Linked DNA regions of Homo sapiens: regions 1 and 3 are each linked to region 2. The links are contacts of gene promoters, found by promoter capture Hi-C in human tissues and cell types (Jung and others, 2019). All regions are on one chromosome and are shown on one strand. Each heading gives the region's core, a stretch centred on a gene start or on the middle of the fragment in contact. The rest is flanking DNA. Distances are from core to core; before and after follow the strand shown.

Region 1 (4,042 bases), core at 1,500-3,999, 1.1 Mb after region 2:
CCCAGCAGATATCAAACTATTTTAAGCCCTCATATCAAAAGCCATTTGAATCCTTTCTGGACCATTTTGCTTTGTTTTGTTTTCTATGGACACTCTGCAGAAATTTTAGGAGGTAAGGGTGAGTTGTCACAAGGTCAAAGCCAGCATACCACAACTCTAGGAAAAGTTGGAAAATCACTGCCCTAACCTCAGTGGCCTCTCCCCTGGAGCATCCAGTTTGAACAAAGACAAAATAAGCCTCAAACTTGGAACAGTATTTTTTTCTTCCACTTCTCTAACCAGCTTGCAAACTGCCTCCCATTGAGCCAGAGTGAGACTTTACTTGGCAAAGATAATTTCACCTAATGTATGCCAACAGCCTTGCTCCTGGGGTACCTCTCAAATCCACCCCAGGATTCTAGGTTCCTGTACTTCCCTGTAGCAGGACTTGGCCCCCAGGAGGCTGTGAAGTTTCCATGGAGAGCCCTGTTGGCACAGCCTGAGACATAGTCTCTTCTCCTAGTCCATTTCTGCCCTAGCAACAGCTACCTCCAATGCAGCTTTGGAAGCTGTTCAATATAGTTAATTGTTTGCATTGGACAGTAGTGTGTTTAGAGCTTATACATCTAAACAGACAATTATTATTTTCTGCTATTTGCTAGTGGCAATGCCTGCCTGGTGACTTTGGCAGATGGAGAAAGGAGCTAATCCGTAGGTTATAAGCAGAAGGGTTATTGATGAAATGTCACCATCTGTTGGTGTCATTAAAATGATATGAGTCATAAAGAGTTGCTTTTGTGTTTTATCAGAAAAAGGTTAGCTTGAAGTCGAGAGAAAAGTTGCTAGATTGTGGATGGTAGTGATGAACAGAGCTAGGGGGAGGCATCAATCTCAGAATGGGGAGGAGCCTTAATGAACTCATCAGCTTGATGGGTCTTCAGGGAAGCTGACTGACTCTCTGCTAGAAAAAAAAATCATCTCTCATGTGAGATGGGGTATTTATTAAGAATGATGCAGTACCCCAAGGCTCCCATGCCTATTTCTGGGGCATCTGCCAGGAGGTAAGGGGAAAGTCATTCATTTGGGTTAAACAAGAAGGATCATATCTGGGAGGGAACAGACAGGAAAATATACCTGTCTCCTTAATCCACATTGGCCCCATGACACAAAGATTATTCACGTAGCTAGCTGACACCTTGGGAGGCTGGTGAGCCCAATAGGGAATGATATTCTCTACACCTGCTATATCCACAAGGAAGAGACAGAGGTGGCATAGAAGAGGGACCAGAGCCAGCACACCAAGCTTCCACCAAAGATGGGAGCCCTCAGGATGGAAGAAAGAAAGCAATGGATGGAATAATATGTGAATTGCATAGAAAGAAATAGGGAGTGTGAGGTGTATATTTAAAAAGGATCCAGGGTACCAAAATAAACTGTCAACTTCCTGATGCTGCCTTATTATTATTATACCTAATCCCTTTAATTCCACCATATTTGCTGTTTACAAATTCTTTTACCCACTGCCAAGGACATATACCCAAAGCAGAAGAACCTGTTGTTACTAACCCTTTTCAATATGGCTTCGCATCCCTTTTTTAAATTATTATTTCAAATTGTAACTCCTAGGGAGAGTTGAAGAGATTGTATAAAACACTATACATACTTTCTGCAGTACCTCAGTTTTGCCAGATAAATAAACAAGACATAGCATTGCTGTGAGCCCGGCCTCTCACCCAGCCCTGACCTCTCCTCAAGGCCAGCTGACCTGAGCCTGCCCCTCATGCCACCTCTGTAGGGACACAGGTGCTGGAGGGGGGCGCTGTTACTGTTTGAAAAGTGTATGGTGCTGGAAGCAAGAGCCCCAGGGGTAGGAGCTTTCTAAAGTTATTTATATGGTCTCAAAAGGAAGCATCAGTGGAAAAGTTCCTGTTGATATTTTTAGATCTGATGCGTGGTCCACTGCTGCACTTTCATTTTCAAACAAGCAGGGAAGGGAGTGATTGATGATGTCTACAGTGCTGTTTTGGAAGTATTGAGGGCTCAGCTGACAGGCTAACGGTCACCCCCTGCTGGGCCCAGACCCTCCCCCTCCATCTCTTCTAGCCCTGACTTCAGAAGCTACTGACTTCAGTGGCTGACAAATAAAACGCTGGCCATTGGCTGCCAAGTCAGAGACTCTGAAGTTTGTTCCCTGGCTCCGACACCCCGTGCAGGTTCACTGTCTTGCTTGACTTGTATTTTCTGTTTCTGAGGACTGAGACATATGTTTGCATAAGTTGTCTTTGGCTGCAAGTACAATGGTTTAGAATTTAGCTGTGGTTAAGCAGGTGACCAACTCACAACCTGAGAAGGGTGTGGGGGTGACAGGGAGAAATGAAGAGAGGTCGGTCAATGGGTACAAACTTACAGTTAGATAGAAGAAATCAGTCCTAATGTTCCTTAGGAGACTAGGGTGACCGTAGCTAGCAACAACACACTATATATTCCAAAGCTAGAAGAGAGGGCTTGGAATGTTACCACACATAGAAATGATAAACACTCAAGGTGATGGAGGCCCCAAATACCCTGACTTGATCATTACACATTCAATGCATGTAAAAAATACATTTACCCCAGAAATACGTAAAATATCAATGAAAGAAAAAAACTCACAACTACACAAAAATCAATGCACTTAGCTATTCCAAGGCCAGTGGGAAGTTAATCTCTCTTAGTAGTATTACTGAATTGTTTCTGTGGTTACTTTCATTTGCCTGATGAAAATCAGTGTTCCAAAAAAAAAAAAAGAGAAAAAGAAATATTTTTTATCAGTGCTCTCCTTCCCAAGGAGCCTGAAAGCTTGTGACTCTGTCTTCAAGGAGAAGGAAAGATGGGGAGATGGTGGTCATCAAGTCTTTTCCTCCACAGATATAGTTTGTTATAAGAAGCTCGTGAATTGTAGTTGTAGCCCACTCCAGTTGAATAATCAGTTGATGAACATGAGAAACTGAAGAGCATTCAAGGAGATAAAAGAAAATTCTTACATGCTCATGGCTGGACAATGTATTATTTGTTCCTAGGACTCAGACTGTGACAAATCTCAAAATCACACATATGAAGCTACTGGAACGAGTCCAGAAAACTGATAAGACATGGAGCTTCCCCTTTGTTCTGTGCTCCTGTTGTTGTGCCTGTGTACATTTTATTTTTTTGTTTGTTTAATTTTACCTCTTTTTCTACCACAGACCGCTGATGAGGAGGAGGACCAGCCTCTCAGCCTTGCCTGGCCTTCTGAAACCCGCAAGCAAGTCACGTTTCTGATTGTTTTCCCCATAGTGTTTCCTCTCTGGATTACGTTACCTGACGTTCGCAAACCTGTAAGTAAAGCATTTTAAAAATAGTTCCCTTGTAAAACATATGGTACATAACAGGGTGCATAGTCTGCTTCAGTTTGTGTTAAAAGGAAAAAGGAAGTACACTTGTATCAAAATCTCACATATACCCCATAAATAGGTACAACTATTATGTAACAAGAAAAAATATTTAAGTTTAAGGAAAAAGAGAAAGTGACATTAAGAATATACAGATTTCTCTGAGCAGACACACAATCACACTGATTGTTCAGGTTATCAAATCTGCATAACAAACTACCCCAAAACTTAGTGGTGTGAAACAACCATCCTTTTAGTCTTTTCTTGGATCCTGTCGATCAAGAATTTGAATAGGGCACATTGTGGATGGCTTGTCTCTGCTCCATTATGTCTGTGGCCTGAAGTAGAAAGACTTGAAGGGTTATGTGTATCTCATCTTGGGGCTACCATCATCTGGAGGCTTCTTTGCCATTTCTGGCACCTGGGCAGAAATGATTCAAAGGTTAGGCTCAGCTGGGACGGTCTACTGGAATGCCTAAACATGGCCTTTTCATGTGACTTGGGCTTCCTCACAGCATGGTAGCCTCAGGATAGTGAAATGTTTTACATAAGAGGTCAGTCAGGACTCCAAGAGTGAATGTTGCAGTGACAGAAGGCAGAAACTGCATGGTCTGTGATGATTCAGTCCCAGAAGTTACATAGATTCACTTCTG
Region 2 (4,460 bases), core at 599-3,098:
TTAAAATGTTTCTACCTTCAGTCGTTTGCTCCATTCTATGCTAAATCCTGTAGAAGGCTGGGAAGAACTGGGGACCTCAAGCCAAAGAAGTTTCTTGATTATAACTGACAGGCAGCGGAATATCAGTTTTAGGGAATCAAAAGTTGAGTTGGAAGGCTGCTGGTTTGGAAACTAAGGTTGGTTCCAAGTGGTCCGACCTGATTCCCAGGATCTTTGTGAGAGCTGCTGGGAGAACTGAAAATTAACAGCGAGGACACAGGACGCCCTAGGTAACGTCCTCCCCGCTATTCTGCTCTTCTCAATTCAAGGGCCGAGACAACTTGCTTTTGTGGAAAAGGGAAGTAAAGGGAAAAGAGGAAAGCAAGGAAGTTCAGTCAGAAAGAGGAAGAGGGACAAAGAGGAAAGAAAGGGACAAAGAGGAAAGAAAGGGACAAAGAGGAAAGAAAGAGGGACAAAGAGGAAAGGCAAGGAGAAGAGAAGGAAAAATCAAGGTTCAGCAAGAAGTTGGAAGGCGAGGGAAAAAGGGGAGTAAAGAGAAGGCAAAAGAGGTCTAAGGGCTAGGAAGATGCAAGGATCTTTTTTTAACGAACCAAAGTCACATCCATCTTTCACTTTCAAATCAATCGTCTAGATCTTATCCGTTTCCTTTTTAAAGGTTATCTGCGTCTGTAAAGGAAGCCAGTAGTTGATACTCCTCTCCGCGCCCCACGCGTGGCCGCGCTGTTCTATCTCCGGCCACTGAGATCAAATACAACGCGAGTGAGAACATTTGCAGAGGCGCGACTCTGGGAACACTCCTGCGACTGGCTGTCACCCGGGAGTCTAACCGGATTAATACTCAGAGATGGATTACGCTGGTTGTCACCAATACGCCTAAAGATTATAATCCAATTTACGCACATTACAGTCAGTATTAACTTTATCTGCTATTTTAAGACTCCCGGTTGCCCCGCGCGTCCTCAGAGGACAATCCTCCACGTTCTGATGCAACTCAGTAGGCTGTCAGGAGGGGAAGCCCCCCGAAGAAAACAACTCCAAGCCTGGTCCCCGAGGGTCTGTACCCGGCACTCCCAGGTGTCTTGCTTTCACCTGGGCACCGCTTTATGAAGCTTCCCAGCCGGGGATTACCAAAGCGGAAGGCGTTCCCTTGCAAGGAAATAGCATCCTTGTTTCTCCCTTGTTCATTTCATTTTCAAATTTTCGGTGGCGGTGGCAGAAGGGCGGGGAGTGAGGGTGGCGGGCGGGTGCCTGTGAGTGGATGGGGCAGGGGGCCAGGGGATCGTTGCGGGTTAGAACAGCCTCAGTCATTGCTATTTTCATGCTCGTTTTTTGCAGGATGGCATTTCTCTCGCTCTCTTTAAGTAAGTTTGTTTGGGTGTGAGTTCTTGTCTTTTCAGCACAAAACCACAGAAATACGTGGTGGAAAGTAAAAGAAAGCCCACTCCCTCCTCCCCGTGCGTACTAGCTAAGGACTTGATTTAACACCCCCTCTCCGGCTGCTGAGGGCTCTAAGCAGTGGCTACATTCCAGCAGTTTTAATCCGTTTTTTATTGTAGGGCGAGCAGAGTTTACACAGGGGCTGGGATGGCTCCCCAGCTGGCCGCTCTCCCCACTCCTGCGTCCCCTCCCTGCCACCCCCCCAGCAGGAACCTGTTACTTTAAGCGAGGCTTTCCAGTGTGGCGCTGCGGGCCGCCGGGGTTTCGGGAGGTGGCAGGTGATTGGCTCTTTCGAGCTCCCCCTGGCTCGCTCGCTCTGCCTCCCCGCGCGCTCCGCCCCGCCCGCAAGCCCTCCCTCCGCCCTGTGAGGCTCGGAGCCCGGGTGTCAGGCGCCACGGCGCATGCTCCGCAATCATCTTCTTTACCCTGGAGCTGCTGCTGCTGCTGCTGCTTTTGCTTTTGGGGCTGAGTTTAATAAGCGAGCGAGCGAGCAAGCGAGCGCGGGGGGAAAAAGGCAGAGAATGTCCGCCATCTACCCTCCGCTCCTGGGCGCGCTCTCATTCATAGCAGCCTCTTCATGAATTACAGCTGAGGGGGGGCGGAGGAGGGGGGGGTACCACACAACACCCCAGCAAACCTCCGGGCCCCCAGGCATGGCTAGCTCGGTAAGTACGCGCAAAAATAATAATAAAAGCCCTCCCCCACTTTCCTTCCTCGCCCTGCGCCGCCGCAGCCCAGACAGCGCCAGCGCTCCGCGGTTCCAATTAGAGAAAGGTTGGTACGGCTTGCAGGGAGCTGCCGCCTCTCCCTCAGCCTCCGCTCCCCTCCTCCCCCACCCCCCCCCGGCGCGCACACAGACACACAGACACACACACACTCACACACGCTCACACTCGCCCCTCCACCCCCCGCGCCTCCCTCCCTCCTCGCCTCTTTGCAGTCACAAGAAGCGCACTCACACACTCCCTCTCGCTCACACGCGCGCACTCACACACACACACACACACGGTGGAAGGAGGCGAATAATAACTCAGCCATATTTCAGCCGCCGCCGCCGGGAGCTGCGGGCACAGTCCGGGGACGCGGCGAGCAGCCTCGGCGGCCGCACCTCCGCAAAGCGCCGCGGCCGCTACGATGGTGCGTTCTCCGCGGCGCGCGTGTGTGAGCCGAAGTGTGCGGGGCTGACAGCGGCGGGGCCGCACGCAACTTTGCCCCAGCGCCGGGAGGTGCTGAGCGCGAGCCGAGGCTCGGCGGCTGTCCGCCCGCCGCCCTGCCTTTCTGAATTTCATTTTTTGGGGGGAGGTGGGAGATACTTTGGAGCCACTTGGGCTCTTGAAAGTGTGTTGCGGGGGCTCGGTTCGACTGGCCTCGCCGATCGCGTGGGGCTTTTCGCTGGGGGGTGCGGGGTGCTCTAAGTTATGGATGCCTCGGCGTGTTTTCCTGCGGGCGTGTGTGTGTGTTTCAGTGTGTATGACGACGTCTCATTTTTGTTGTGCACGAACCCCGTGGCAAGAGCACGGGAGTTTGTGCCCATCAGCAGAGGCTGCCTGTAGTTTCCATTTCGCCTGGCACAGCGCTCCACACGCACGCACACACACGTACACAAAGACTTCCTCGGCGTGTGCCTGTCGCCGCGGTACTTTCGGGGAGGGGGCTCGCCAGGAGCCCTTCGGTCCCCCTGGGTCCCAGCCACCTCCCCTCCCACGCCGGGAAACCGCCCCGGCATCGCCTTCTGATTTGTTTCCGATGCATTTGTTGTCGTGCTTGTCGTGGCTGAGTGTGTTCTCCCTCTTTTCCCCGACCCCCTTCCCGACTGGGGATAACATTCCGTTACAATCCTGTCCGATGTAGATGCGGGGCCCGGGGCGCCTGGGGCCAAGCCGGGCCGGGCGGGCGGGTATATTTGGGGGTGTGGAGTGTGCGCGCCCACGCGCGTGAAACGTGGATGCAGAGGGCACCGCCGTTTCCTTTTATGTGCGTTTCAAGAAGGAGGAAAAAAATGTCAGGCGCAACGTTCACTGCCGAAACCTCGCCTTCCTGTTATTCACGGCTGTCTCTCCTCCCCCTGCCCGCAGTGTGCCGTGCAGGTGAAGCTGGAGCTGGGGCACCGCGCCCAGGTGAGGAAAAAACCCACCGTGGAGGGCTTCACCCACGACTGGATGGTGTTCGTACGCGGTCCGGAGCACAGTAACATACAGCACTTTGTGGAGAAAGTCGTCTTCCACTTGCACGAAAGCTTTCCTAGGCCAAAAAGAGGTAGGGCTCGAATACAAAAGGGTCTTGATAAAAAATGTCTTTGAAACAATCGCTTGGCCCGGGCGGTCCCGCTGTCCCGCTCCCCGCCCCCCGCGCCGCGCTCGCCGGCGTAGCCTCGGGATCCGGGTGCGCGGCGCCGCGCGGGCCAGGTCCCGGCTCCCGCCTGCCCGCGCGCGCGCCACTTCGGCTTGGTGAAAGTCACCGCAGAGAAAGGACCGTCAGGTGTCGAGTGTTTATTCATCCCAAGCCAGCCCTCACCAGTCCTCTGGGGTTAGCCGCGGGTTCTGTGGGGAAGGTGCAATTAGTTGTTGAGTTTGGAGATGTGGGGAATCGGGCTGGAGGGAATAAACACTTTGCGCGTGTGTGTGTGTGTGTGTGTGTGTGTGTGTGTGTGTGTGTGTTTTCCTAGAGAAATTAAGATTTACCTGTGTTATTAGCAAAGAATGTATTGGATGTAGTTATTGTTCGGTCTTGGCAAGTCGGTTCTCTTTAGGGTCTTCTGTGCTTTCCTGTCTGTGTATGAGGCACCAGGTGCCAGTTGCCATAGACTTTTCTTTTTGTGGCTTAGCCACCGCCACACCCACTCCAGTCTGGATTTTATGTTTACTTGGGGGGCTTACTCGTTCCTCCCTCCCACCCCCGCGTGCCACTTGACTGCTCCTTTGATTCTGAGCAACGTTCCAAAGTGTCTGCCGGATGTGATCTGCAGGGAGACTGTTCTTGCAAAGGTCGAAGCTAAGTTGAAGAGGAACGATGTGGAGGAAGCC
Region 3 (4,223 bases), core at 1,688-4,187, 1.2 Mb after region 2:
AGAAGAGGCTGCAGAATATGCTAAACTTTTGGCCAAGAGAATGAAGGTTAGTCTAAGATGATTTGAGGGGGTGGGAGGAGTTCGACCTGGCTTTGGATTTGCGTCTTTAACCCAGAAAGGCCTTAACTGTTTGCTGTTTTGTTTTGTTTAGGAGGCTAAGGAGAAGCGCCAGGAACAAATTGCGAAGAGACGCAGACTTTCCTCTCTGCGAGCTTCTACTTCTAAGTCTGAATCCAGTCAGAAATAAGATTTTTTGAGTAACAAATAAATAAGATCAGACTCTGATCTCTGTTGACTTTTCATTGCTGATAGAAAACTACATAAATGAAGAGAGGGAAAGTTAGGTCATAGAAAATGGGGATATGTATATATGGTATTCCAATGGTGGATAAAGTCAGACCTATTGTGTGTGGTAGTGGAAGACAAGGTCAGTGTACAGGGGTTCCTTTCAGGGGATGGGTGGCACAGGAAGGGATTCTGAGCATAAGACACCTGCCTCTTCAGAATGGCATGGAACTTAGGGGAAATGATGAGGACTATTAATCTTTTTTATATAGTTTATTTTTGAGGAATATAGCTCTTTAAAGCACTATACACAATTTAATACATGAAAATTGACCTTGTGAAGATGAACATGTCTTTTTTAAAAGGTAACTTTTAAGGCATAGTTTTAGTGGATACCTAGTTTTAGTGGATACCATCCACTAAATGGTTTTTAAGCCATTTCAAATTTGTTTTAACAAAGCTTTTCAACTCCAGTGAATTGTTAGGCTGTTCACACACTGAAAAGGAAATGACTAAAAACATTCTTGGATCAGTGAAAAATGCACAAAGTATGTACTTTTTTCTAACAGTTCTATGCTGACTAGCCTATTGTGACAATATCAGGATCTTTAGAAGGTGGCACATTAGGCTTTAAGGTTGAAGTAATGCAAGCTCTTTGTTGGCATTACTGTAATAATAGCTTTACAAAGCAGAGTTCTAAATGTTAAATGTACATGTGAATCACCTAGGGGTCTGGTTAAGGCGCAGATAGTGATTGATAGAGGAGTGGGGACCCACATTTTTACATTACTAAAAAGCTCCCAGGTGTTAGGCCGGTAGTGCCAGTCCCTCGATGCCTACTAAGATTCTTAACTATTCCTCTTACTACATGGTGTTAAAAAGCTACATAACATGAAAAGAATCTTAGTTGGCAATCAATAATAATATGCAGAACTTAAAAGGCAAAGGGGATGGCCAGGTGGGGAGGCCAAGGCAGGTGGATCACCTGAGGTCAGGAGTTCAAGACCAGCCTGGCCAACATGGTGAAACCCCGTTCCTACTAAAAATACGAAAATTAGCGCATGCCTGTAGTCCCAGCTACTCGGGAGGCTGAGGCAGGAGAATCGCTTGAACCAGGGAGGTTGAGGTTTCAGTGAGCCAAGATTACACTGTTGTACTCCAGCCTGGGCGACAGAGCAAGACTCCCATCTCAAAAAAAAAAAAAAAAAAAAATTTAGCACAAGCAGAGAGAGGAACTTAAAAGCCACAAGGTGAGTCCAGTGTTATGGTCCAAAGTTTTATATTAACCAGTTCTTGTTTATGATGCACAAAACATGAGAACCGCCCTGCTTTCTGAAAATTGAGTGCAGCCACAAAATAAGGACAGTCTGTTTTTCCTTAGATTTTTTTTTTTCTTTGACACAGGGTTTCACTCCTACGCCCCGGATGGCGAGCAGTGGTATGGCTCACTGCAGCCTTGACCGCCTGGGAACTACAGGTGTGCACTGCGGCTAGTTTTTGTGCTTTTTGTAGAGTTTTGCTATGTTACCCAGGCTACTCTTGAACTCCTGGGCTCAAGTGATCCGCCTGCCTTGGCATCCCAAAGTGTTGAGATTACTACAGGCGTGAGCCACCATACCCAGTTCTCCACACACACGCAAGTCATTCTGACATGTCGTTAACTATGCAGGTTGTGATCAACCTGTACAATTCGTTCGTTGGAAGAAAAAAAAATCGCTATCGAACCCCAAACCAATATAAGGTACTGCTGAGTAATCTGGACTAATTTGAAAGATTGCTTTTAGAAGTTATCAGGATTAAAGTTGCATACAGTGCTACAAGTCATTCCAGGTACTTCTAAATCTTTCCATAATAATGTTTTTGTCTTGTAAATTTTTAGTGGTACCCTCTCTGTGGTGGGTATTGGAAAAAGCCTTTAAAAATTTATAACAAGAAATCAGTCCCAATATCTAAATGGCAGCAGCAGACTAAAGTTTTCAAGGTAGAGATCTTTACAGATTTTTTTTAATGGGAAGCGCGTCAGTAAGTGAAAACTTGAGTTCAAGTTACGAGTGAAGGAATGGAAAAAACAAAATATTGGGATTCTAAAGATTACAGATTTCAAGAGGCTTAATGTAACAGAAAACAACAATTTTTCATTTTATTCAACCTCAATTTTTATATGCAAGGTAATTCCAAACTTCTGTTGGGTCAGTAAGTGTTAAGTATTAAAACTAGTACCAAGTCTTGAGTTGCAAAAATATATACTCTCAGACAGTGCAAAAGATCCATTTTGAAGGTAATGAAAATTGTACATAATTTCTGACAAATTGTTTCATTTAGCATTTTCACAATAAATTCACACTAGAATTCTGCATAGGTCAGATTAACCCTGAAATGTTGAAAGACTGGTACAATAACTATAATTTGTAAATGGTTACATCAGGTAGAAGGGAGTTAGGTTGTTACTGTACCATATGGAAGTAATTTTACTGTGTCAACTCATTTAGTCATCTGCATAATTACTGTAAACACACACAAAACCAATGGCTTTTTAAACCATGCAGAGAGTTAAGGCAAACTTACTGTTCCTAAGGGATATTTTTAATAAAAGGCATGATAAATGTCAAAGTGAGGCATGTGAGATCATGATTTTCTTAAACCTACTGGCAACAAGCTTAATAAATTTACAGTTTTAAGACTTAATTGATTCAACCTAAAAACACAGTATTTACAAATGCACATTTTTACTCACAAGCATACAAATCTAAATATACAAGAATAAAACTTCCGTGTGCAGTGCAAGTTTATCCCACAGGTTTTAAAAAGTCATCAATACCAACAATGTATGTGCCTGAAAAAAGATTTCATGTTCAATGACATACACTTTAGCATTTTAAGCACATTCCAATGAATTCCATAAATTATTAGGCAGCTGATTTAATTTCATTTTAACTATCTGATGATTGATTCATTTGTTCCCATTTTAAAACTATTGCAAATTAACATTGGGAAGAGGATGGAAGTAACTGGATAATCAAGATAAAACCCATTAAGCAAGATAATACATAATATGAAAGGTGTATTATGTTGGTACAAAAATAATTGCGGTTTTTGCCATTAATAGTGGCAAAAACTACAATTAATTTTGTGCCAACCTAATACATTAAAGTTAGGGAAGGCAGCTGTCATCAGATTTTCAGGTAATTTTAAGATTAATGACTACAGACAAGTTTAGTAGTAGTCATTTATTTAATAGTCAATGAGACCCCTTTCAGAAAACCGTATTGCAACATGCAATCTATTTTAATAAATATACACTTAGAATATGGCTGTATATACACATACCTACACAGCCCTACACATATACAAACTTACACAAATATGTTGCTCTCTTTTTTTTTTTTTTTTTTTTTTGAGACGGTCTCACTCTGTCACCCAAGCTGGAGTTGCAGTGGCGTGATCTCCACTCACTGTAGCCTCTGCCTCAGTTCAAGCGATTCTCCTGCCTCAGCCTGAGTAGCTGGGACTACAGTGGTGCGCCTGGCTAATTTTTGTATTTTTAGTAAAGACAGGGTCTCACCGTGTTGGCCAGGCTGGTCTCGAACTCCTGGCCTCAAGTGATCCACCCACCTTGCTCAGCCTCCCAAAGTGCTGGGATTACAGGCCTGAGCCACCGTGCCCGGCCATGTTGCTTTTATAATTGAGATATTTCATTTGTTTTGGGGGTTAGGCAAATTTAATTTGCCATTCCTCAAACTCAGTAACTTCAAATATAAACAATGCCTAGAATGAATATGGTTCCTCATTATTTCTATCAAACTACTACAAATACTGAAGAATCCCAAAGTAGTTTTCCACAGAGGCAGAAAAGCAGTTCAGGGGTTGAAAATCTTCAATATTAATAAGCCCTGGGACATTCAAATGGCACTTCATATTTCAAGGTAATGCAATATGAA

Evidence for each region. Contacts are between HindIII fragments. The study calls those that stand out against the background at their distance.
Region 1: a contact is called between a fragment that was not itself captured here and the fragment with the promoter of MLLT3 in region 2, in 1 of the 25 tissues and cell types used here (dorsolateral prefrontal cortex).
Region 3: a fragment that was not itself captured here is called in contact with the fragment with the promoter of MLLT3 in region 2 in 1 of the 25 tissues and cell types used here (dorsolateral prefrontal cortex).

The regions. Positions count from the first base shown.
Region 1 is chr9:19,549,430-19,553,471 of GRCh38, reverse strand. SLC24A2 (solute carrier family 24 member 2) reads left to right here. Exons shown (of 11, transcript NM_020344.4): 8 at 3,204-3,335. All of the region lies in intron 4 of LOC105375988 (a long non-coding RNA gene), which reads right to left. Among named protein-coding and RNA genes, the nearest start is that of MAP1LC3BP1, 88 kb to the right of the region's middle. The HindIII fragment of the contact is 4,246 bases long and covers 627-4,042 here.
Region 2 is chr9:20,619,887-20,624,346 of GRCh38, reverse strand. It overlaps MLLT3 (MLLT3 super elongation complex subunit), which reads left to right and starts at 1,848. Exons shown (of 11, transcript NM_004529.4): 1 at 1,848-2,102; 2 at 3,513-3,693. The coding sequence starts at 2,091. RefSeq lists silencers at 1,250-1,389, 1,410-1,869, 2,290-2,439, 2,510-2,559, 3,780-3,899 and an enhancer at 3,490-3,619. The HindIII fragment of the contact is 4,373 bases long and covers 159-4,460 here.
Region 3 is chr9:19,372,317-19,376,539 of GRCh38, reverse strand. It overlaps DENND4C (DENN domain containing 4C), which reads right to left. Exons shown (of 33, transcript NM_001330640.2): 33 at 2,259-4,223. It overlaps RPS6 (ribosomal protein S6), which reads left to right. Exons shown (of 6, transcript NM_001010.3): 5 at 1-46; 6 at 152-825. The coding sequence ends at 247. Among named protein-coding and RNA genes, the nearest start is that of RPS6, 5.8 kb to the left of the region's middle. The HindIII fragment of the contact is 5,326 bases long and covers 275-4,223 here.